Regions from separate parts of the Homo sapiens genome. Here regions 1 and 3 are each linked to region 2. The links are contacts of gene promoters, found by promoter capture Hi-C in blood cells and fetal thymus (Javierre and others, 2016). All regions are on one chromosome and are shown on one strand. The core of a region is centred on a gene start or on the middle of the fragment in contact, and the rest is flanking DNA. Distances in the headings are between cores, read along the strand shown. Region 1 overlaps GPD1L (glycerol-3-phosphate dehydrogenase 1 like). Region 2 holds the start of OSBPL10-AS1 (OSBPL10 antisense RNA 1). Region 3 overlaps GPD1L (glycerol-3-phosphate dehydrogenase 1 like).

What was found. Contacts are between HindIII fragments. The CHiCAGO score rates a contact against its expected background, and 5 or more counts as called.
Region 1: a contact is called between a fragment that was not itself captured here and the fragment with the promoter of OSBPL10-AS1 in region 2, in 1 of 17 cell types (naive B cells). The highest score is 6.0, in naive B cells.
Region 3: a contact is called between a fragment that was not itself captured here and the fragment with the promoter of OSBPL10-AS1 in region 2, in 1 of 17 cell types (naive B cells). The highest score is 5.2, in naive B cells.

What each region holds. Positions count from the first base shown.
Region 1 is chr3:32,125,965-32,128,664 of GRCh38, forward strand. GPD1L (glycerol-3-phosphate dehydrogenase 1 like) reads left to right here. Exons shown (of 8, transcript NM_015141.4): 2 at 2,112-2,289. Among named protein-coding and RNA genes, the nearest start is that of GPD1L, 21 kb to the left of the region's middle. The HindIII fragment of the contact is 3,239 bases long and covers 1-2,700 here.
Region 2 is chr3:31,702,849-31,705,548 of GRCh38, forward strand. It overlaps OSBPL10-AS1 (OSBPL10 antisense RNA 1), which reads left to right and starts at 1,365. Exons shown (of 5, transcript NR_049771.1): 1 at 1,365-1,391. The region is part of intron 6 of OSBPL10 (oxysterol binding protein like 10); the gene reads right to left. The HindIII fragment of the contact is 3,023 bases long and covers 1-1,817 here.
Region 3 is chr3:32,149,957-32,152,656 of GRCh38, forward strand. All of the region lies in intron 5 of GPD1L (glycerol-3-phosphate dehydrogenase 1 like), which reads left to right. It also overlaps the pseudogene RPL21P137. Among named protein-coding and RNA genes, the nearest start is that of GPD1L, 45 kb to the left of the region's middle. The HindIII fragment of the contact is 5,964 bases long and covers 1-2,700 here.

The sequences.
Region 1 (2,700 bases), core at 135-2,634, 420 kb after region 2:
TTGAATCCCAAAGGATGTACAGACATGGTCTGGAGGGCTTAGTTCTTAATGGTACCAATGTTTGTTTAAATTTTCCTAACTCTAGGCAGGTGTGGTGGCATGTGCCTGTAGTCCCAGCCACTCAGGAGGCTGAGTTGGAAGGATCACCTGAGCCCAGGAGGTCGAGGCTGCAGTGAATTGTGACTGTGCCACTGCACTCCAGCCTGGGTGACAGAGTGAGATCCTGTATCAATAAATTAAATAAATAAATAAATACATAAATAAATAAATATTCCCAACTCATTGCAGCAGATACTACAGGTTTGCTTCTGGTTGCAAATGTTTGGCTTCCCCAAGAGGCAGCTGTAAAGGGGAAAGCAAGTGTATTCCAGTAAGATCATGGGGAGGGATTCCTGGTTCTGATTTATTTTTCCACTTGGTTTACTAGACTTAGATTCCTGGTGTCTCATAGTCCCTCGTCAGTTGATGCTCAGTCCCCCAGAACCATACTTGTTCTCTATGACCTTGTGAAAGTTACTTGATGCCAGGGAACACTGTGAACCACAGCCTTTATCTTCCTGTGAGTACGTGAGCAGCTGTTTCCAAGATTAGAATAAAGGTGGTAGTGATGGTGGGAGATTCCTGGCCTCCCTTCTACAAAGTGTCAGTAGGAGAATTAGATTAATGGGTATTTTTCTAATAACCTGTCCTGCTGGCATAGAATAAGAATTTCACAGGTACAGCTGCATAGCCTTGATATCTACAGCTATTCTTTTGTGAGGGAGGAGGGCATCAGAATTCTAATCATTGTGCAGAGCAGTGGCTCTCAGCCCTGGCTGCACATCAAGTCATCAGGGAGCTTTAAAAAGTACAGATGCCTGATCCCACCACAGAAGTGCCAGTTCCGTTGGCCTGGGGTGTGGTCTGGGACTCAGGATTTTTAAATCTCCCGGGTAACTCTGTGTGCAGCCAAAGTTGAGAACCACTGGTTCAGTTTATCCCTTCTATGTCAGGAAAGGGACAATATTTATAATCTGTTAGAATTACTTGAAATTTTATGGTTGTTAAAGCATACAGGTTTATATGCTGGGATGTATTATATTTGGGTTAGAATAACAGATTCATCCAGGGATGAAAATAAATGTCTCCAACATGTTCTGCATCCACTTGGCCGCCCCCGCCTTTTGTTGTCACCCCCTACTCCATCTCATCAATTTGTCTTGAGAATAATTGTGAGAAAAAGTAGCAACTGCCCTAACACATGAATTTGCAAGATGCTCTTTACTGCGTTCTCTCATTTGCTCCTCACGCCAGGAAGGTCATCTAAGAAACAAACTGTTTCTCAGTTGAAAGTCCAGAGGGGAAAGCTGACAGGCTCAGCTAGGATCAAGTGCCCACCATGGCCCCATCAGCAGCTTCTGTGAGATGGACACAGGTGCCTGGTCCAACCTCCTCTGCTGCGGCAACCACGTGCAGACCTGCACTGCTGTCGGGAGGACAGATGTTAACAAATCAGGGTCATTCTTGTCCCCTGTAGGAAAGCCTGTGGGAGACTGAGCCGTCACTAGAACATGTTTGCTAAATAGAGATGCAGAGAAAAGGGAGCTTGGGGGCCAGAGGCCGGCTTGGTTGCAGGGCGGAGGGAGTGCAAAGTACTCAACAACTGGGCCCTGCGCTCTCCCTTTGCTCCTCTTCTGGAATCCAGTCAGGTTCTTGTCTTTCCTTTGTGATTCTGCTTTGCACCTGTTGCAGTTCATCAAGACACAGTTTATCTTACCACAGGTACATCTCAATATCCTTTCAAGACCTTCTAGGGTCATTTTCATGCTTTGGGGTGGATTTCTCTTCTGCCTGTGACGTTGTCTTCCAAGATAGGTTGATTCTTACTAGTTTCAAGGGGTGGTGCATTTTGACCTTAAGCCAAATTCTGGTGCTTTCCCAGTCACAGGCGGTGGTATTCCATGTGAAAACAACTAAGTTTCAAATGGCTTGGGGCTGATACACGTCACATCTTGAGTAGGCTCAGTGTTTGAATCAGAATCAAAACACAAGTCTTCTGAATTTTAATCAAACGCTTTTTCTCTCCCGCCCAAGTGAGTTTATGTTTTTCTTTTCCACGATTTCTTTTGTAGGGGTTCAGCTGTTGCAAAAATAATTGGTAATAATGTCAAGAAACTTCAGAAATTTGCCTCCACAGTCAAGATGTGGGTCTTTGAAGAAACAGTGAATGGCAGAAAACTGACAGACATCATAAATAATGACCATGAAAATGTAAAATATCTTCCTGGACACAAGCTGCCAGAAAATGTGGTAAGACTTTGGGGTGAAATGTACATTGGTTCATTCTGCAAGTTGTGCTTGGCTGAGCAGCACTTGGGTTTTGGAACTGGGAAAGCTGCTTCCCTTTTCCCCAGTTCCTTTCCACTACCAATTGGTTGGTTGGTTTTGGTCTTCCTGACTCTGAAAATGGGTTTCCTATTATGTTGCTAAGGATGCCTTAACAAAGTGCCAGACTGGGTACCTTAAACAACAGAAATTTATCTTTTATAATTCTAGAGGTTTTGAGCATGAGATCAGGGTGTTGATAGGGTTAATTTCTTCTGAGGCCTCTCTCCTTGGCTTATAGATAGCATCTTCTGTATTTTCACATGGTCTTCCCTCTAATCCTGTCTCTGTCATAATCTCCTCTTATAAAGATAGCAGTCATATTGGATAAAGACC
Region 2 (2,700 bases), core at 115-2,614:
AAGTTAGACTCCTGTTAACTTGCACAATCCAGGCCACTTCATATCTAATATAAATTTTTCTGTTTATAAGTAAAAGTTGGATTATCCAGGGACTAAAATTATTTATGGAAAAACGTGCTCTAAGACTATTTCTACCCAAATCAATTAGGATCACTCTAGCAGGTATAAGAAAATGCTGAGAATTGGCATTAATTTAGGGAGGAAGACAACAAATGAAAATTTAAGGCAAAACTGAAACTTTATGATACTACTGGGATTCACACTGGCCAACATACCCTGCTTTCCTCGATGCAAGTTTATTAATTCAATCACTCAATTCCAATTTTTCACATTACATAGAAAACAGGCAACTTAATAAACTGGGCAAGGGGATTATTGCACATAAAATTTTCCAGTATCCAAGTATTAAGGACTCTGGTTACAAGGTTAACTTGCCCTCAGAATTCTATTGAAAGAAGTATCCACATTCCACACTCCACATTTACCTATGTTCTTATGATGCTTGCTTACATATAAGCAAAAGCACTCTGCACAGAACATTATACATTTCTTTCCAATTATCAATAACAGGTCAGACATAATATACAGAAATTCAGAAGCTCAAAGATGTTAAACATGAAAGGATACAGACTTGTCCAAATGTCCATGCAAAAAACGAACAATTTACTAACCTCATTAGACAGAATCATCTTATATCTACAGGCACTTCTAACATACAAAGGTTATTTTAGTGGTCAAGGTGTTTAAAATTGTCTGGCCTTACATACCCACACGGACCATTCCTTTCCAACATTCCAAAGAGAGGTAATAACGGTGTTCCTTCCCTCCTGGGGTAGGCATTTTTAAAACTTCAACGTAAATAGACGTTTTCCACAGACATACTCCTAAGGTGTTCTCAATCAGCTCTAAATAACCCCAATTCTAAAGAGATGGTTGGGAAGATCTCAGTGAAGCCCACAGGATATTCCCCCAGCCAAAAGCTGAGTTTTCTTTTATTATGTGCCCAGTTCTCTAGCCACCTCATAATGGGTATTATCTGACGTCATTGGCAAGTTGCTTTGCTAGATTATGCTGAAATAATTGAGGAATCCTTACCTATGCTAACCCTGAGAGGAAGAGCCAGAGAGGGAAGTCTCTGAGCTGTGAGCTACCCTGATTCTACACTGGGAAGTTAGGGGTAGAAGCACACAGGAGCCCAGCACTTACAGCCAGTGGCCCTGGGGGTCTCCTCCAGCTCCACCTCATGACACCCCGTGCTGCTGCGTGACTGCTCCTGGTGCCAAGGCCACCGCTGCCATGAGTCTGAATGGCTAATGCTGAGATTAGCAGGGCCTCCCTTCTACTGGCCTGTCCTCCTGGCTCTCCTCCCTTTTGCCTCTTCTGGATTTCAGGTCAGTTTGAAAGTGGGTGGCTGTCTCAGCTCCCTGTGAGCTTCCATTTCCAGTCTACGCTACGGAAGTCAGAGAGCTCAGACACAAATCCCTCCCAATGGCAAAGGTGCTATAGCTGCAACTTCCTCTGCAGTGACCCGGTGGGCAGTAATCTGTATTAGCAGAATTCCTCTCATGCCAGCACCAGCTGGGGGAGGAGAGGGTAGTGCCTGGGCATTCTGCTTTGGGAAGAAAAAGGACAATCAAAACCAAGTGAAATCCAACCACCATGGTGTACCCAACAGGTGGAGTGGGCTGCAAAGTCCTTAAACATCTCAACAGGAGAAGTAGCTCCATTTTGCGGGCAATTATTTTCTGCTTGAAATTAGCTGTTCTCACCAAGAATGGACTGCATACTAAATCAATTGCTCCACTGAGGCTGCCATAAGCTTCATGAAGCAAAGAATGATTCATTCTTCTAAAGCTGTGATTTCCTATTTGCTCACAAGCCATTGCAGGGGAAATCCTCATCTTTCCCACTCACTGCTACACTCACTGTGATGTGTTTATAGACCTTCGGGGACCACACCTCCTCCAGCTGTCTGCCTTACTCGAAAATTAGACCCAGCTTGTCCCTGACTTCTAGTAGCCAGAAAGTCTTCCACAAGATCCAGCCGCATGATACGGAGTACACACATAAATGTGAAAACAAACCCCTCCATCCTTTCCCACTGTAAATCAACAGCACATGCCCTCTGTGTCTGACAATTCCTCTCAAAGACAGTGGCTCCAGCAGAGGAAATTAAGGCTGGTGCAGGTGCCCCAGAAGCTGAGTCATCCGGGATGACTGGTGGCCCTGAAGTCCCGCCCACAGAAGGACGGCCATGGGAGCCTGGCACACTGCCCCTTGGTGGCACAAATCCTGAGCAAGCCATGCCCTAACCTTAAACAAGGACCTAGGACTGTTTTCTCTCCCACAGCCTCTGAGAACTTGCCCTTTCTCTCCCAATGTGATTTGTAAACAATTCTCCTACCCAGCCTCAAGTAAATATCAGAGTTAAGCTGGTTTCATACACCATGTTGACAGTAAACATCTTAGAGGACACTTTCAATCCACCCACACTGCAGCTCAGTCCATCTGCACAAAGAGAAGACCCCCCCCCCCACCCCCATCGCGGTCCAACTTGGGGGTACATAGATGGAAAGGCAGCAGTAGTCAGCAGGTCAACTCTGTCTGAAAGAGGTCCATGGCAATGTAAATACCAATCTACTGGCAACCACAAAGCACCCACATAGACAGGCACTGCAAGGAATGGAGGGTTTGAAGAAG
Region 3 (2,700 bases), core at 73-2,572, 450 kb after region 2:
AAAAAAATGTAATTCATGTAATCAAACTGCATCTATTTAGAGTTTATAATACCATGGGTTTTGAGAGTTGTGTGCATGCACTTGCGAAAACCACTACCAAAGTACACAACATTTCCATTATCCCCAAACAACTCCACATGTCCCTTTGAGGTTCCTCATCACCCCAGCCTCCAGTTGGGCAGTCAGCTGATCTGCTTTTATATGCCATCGTTTGCATTTTCTAGGATTTTTATAAGTGGAACTGTACAGTATGCACTCTTTTGTGTCTGGCTTCTTTGATTGGAGGTGTATTTTTTGTTTGTTTTAATATAAATTTTAAGAGGTACTTCATATAGAAAAGTACAAAAATCATAAGTATATTGTTTAATCTATGTTATCTTTTTTTTCCCCTCTGAGAGAGGTCTTGTGTTCCTTGGCTCAAGCTGTTTTCCTGCCTCAGCCTCCCAAGTAGCTGGGATTATAGGTATGCACCACAGCGCCTGATTTATGTTATTGTTTTCTGTGTTTTTAAATAGTCTAGTGGTCTTTTTTTTCTTAACAACTTTTTTTTTTTTTTGAGACAGAGTCTTGCCCAGGCTGGAGTGCAGTGGTGTGATCTCAGCTTACTGCAACCTCTGCCTTCCAGGTTCAAGGAATTCTCATGCCTCAGCCTCCCAAGTAGCTGGGATTACAGGTGCATTCCACCACACCCAGTTAATTTTTGTATTTTTAGTAGAGATAGGGTTTTGCCATGTTGGCCAGGCTGTAGCTGGCCAACAGATGTATTACATCTGTAATGTACGTTTTGTAATTGGCTACTATGGAGAATATTACTAAAGATGATTAATGTTAAAAAAGTGAAACTCATCAATGGCTGGACGTCGTGGGTCATCCTTGTAATCCCAGCACTTTGGGAGGCCGAGGTGGGAAGACTGCTTGAGTCCACGAGTTCAAGACCAGCCTGGACAACACAGTGAGACCCCCCGCATCTCTACAAAAAATAAACAAAATTAGTCAGACGTGGTGGCTTGTGCCTGTAGTCCCAGCTACTCGAACTCCTGGCCTCAAGTGATCCGCCTGCCTCAGCTTCCCAAAGTGCTGGGGTTACATGCGTGAGCCATCACACCCAGCCTATTTTTCACACCTATTATGCATGAATTCATAGAGAATAAGTCCCAGCAGCTCAGGCTCCTTCCCACTGGTTCCCACAAAGTGCGCTTCTCTGGGTGGAGCAGGCTGGTACTTCAGTCTAATCCAGGTACCTTTCTCTTTGGCTTCCTTCTTTTTCTGATCATTTTCCTTCATGTGTTTCAGGAAGCTATCTCAGCTCTTAGCTTAATATGCTCCATACACCCATTAATTCTTGGCAAGAATCTTGCCCTTAACTTGTTTACCACAATGCCAGCAGCATGCTGGGTAACATTGTAGACTCTTCCAGTTTAGCCATGGTGACACTTGTGGGGCATTCCTTTTTGAACAGTGACCATTCCCCTGATGTCTACAATATCATCTTTTTTTAAAAAAAGGTTTTTTAGCTTATGTATTTATTTTTTATTTTTTTTGAGACAGGGTCTCACTCTGTTGCCCAGGCTGGAGTGCAGTGGCACAATCTCAGCTCAGTGCAACCTCTGCCTCCTGGGCTCAAGTGATCCTCCCGCCTCAGCCTTCTGAGTAACTGGGACTATAGGTGCTTGCCACCATGCCTGCTAATTTTTGTATTTTTTGTGGAGACAGAGTTTCACCATGTTGCCCAGTCTGATCTCAAACTCCTGGACTCAAGTGATCCATCAGCCTTGGCCTCCCAACGTGCTAGGATTATAGACCTGAGCCACCACACCCTGCCAATATCACCTTTCTGATAGATTCACATATATGTGGCCAAAGGAGCAACTTCATGCTTTCTAAAAGGCCTGGAGAACATATGTCAGGTACTTCTCTCCTCTTTCCCTTTTGTATTCATCATTTTGGTAAATTACTGGAAGATGGCGATTCTGGCCAGAAGGCTATCATTTTTAATAGATTCTTTATCAGGATTGAGTTTCATTAACAGAGACCCAAAATAATACAGGTTGAGTATCTCTTATCTAAAATACTTGTGACCAGAAGTGTTTTGGATTTTGGATTTTTTCTTTTTTGGAATATTTGCATTATACTTACCAGTTCATCATCCCTATTTGAAAATACAAAATGCTCCAATGACTATTTCCTTTGAGCATGATGTTGGTGCTCCAGAAGTCTCAGATTTTGGAGCATTTTGGATTTTGGATTTTCAGATTAGGAATGCTCAAACTGTACTGGCTGAACAAGGTAGACGTTTCTTTCTTTCTTATGTAAAATCCAGAATGTATATGACAATTCTATTCTATAGAATTCGCAGGGATCCAGGCTTCTTCCAGCTCACTTGGTGCTTAGCCCATTTTGTGCTGCTATAACAGAACACTTGAGACTGGGTGATTTATAATGAACAGAAATGTATTGGCTCATACAGTTCTGGAGGCTGGAAAATCCAGTATCGGGCACCAGCAGTTCTGGTGTCTCATGAGGGCACGGTCTGTTCCAAGTGGCACCTTGAATGCTGCCGGAGGGGAGGAGCGCTGACCCTCATGCAACAGAGGAATGGAAGAGGCAAACAGAGAGCCACTCCCGGAGTCTTTTTTCTAAGGAAAAGCCTCAGTCCATTCATGAAGGCAGAACACGCATGACCAAAACACTTCCTGTTAG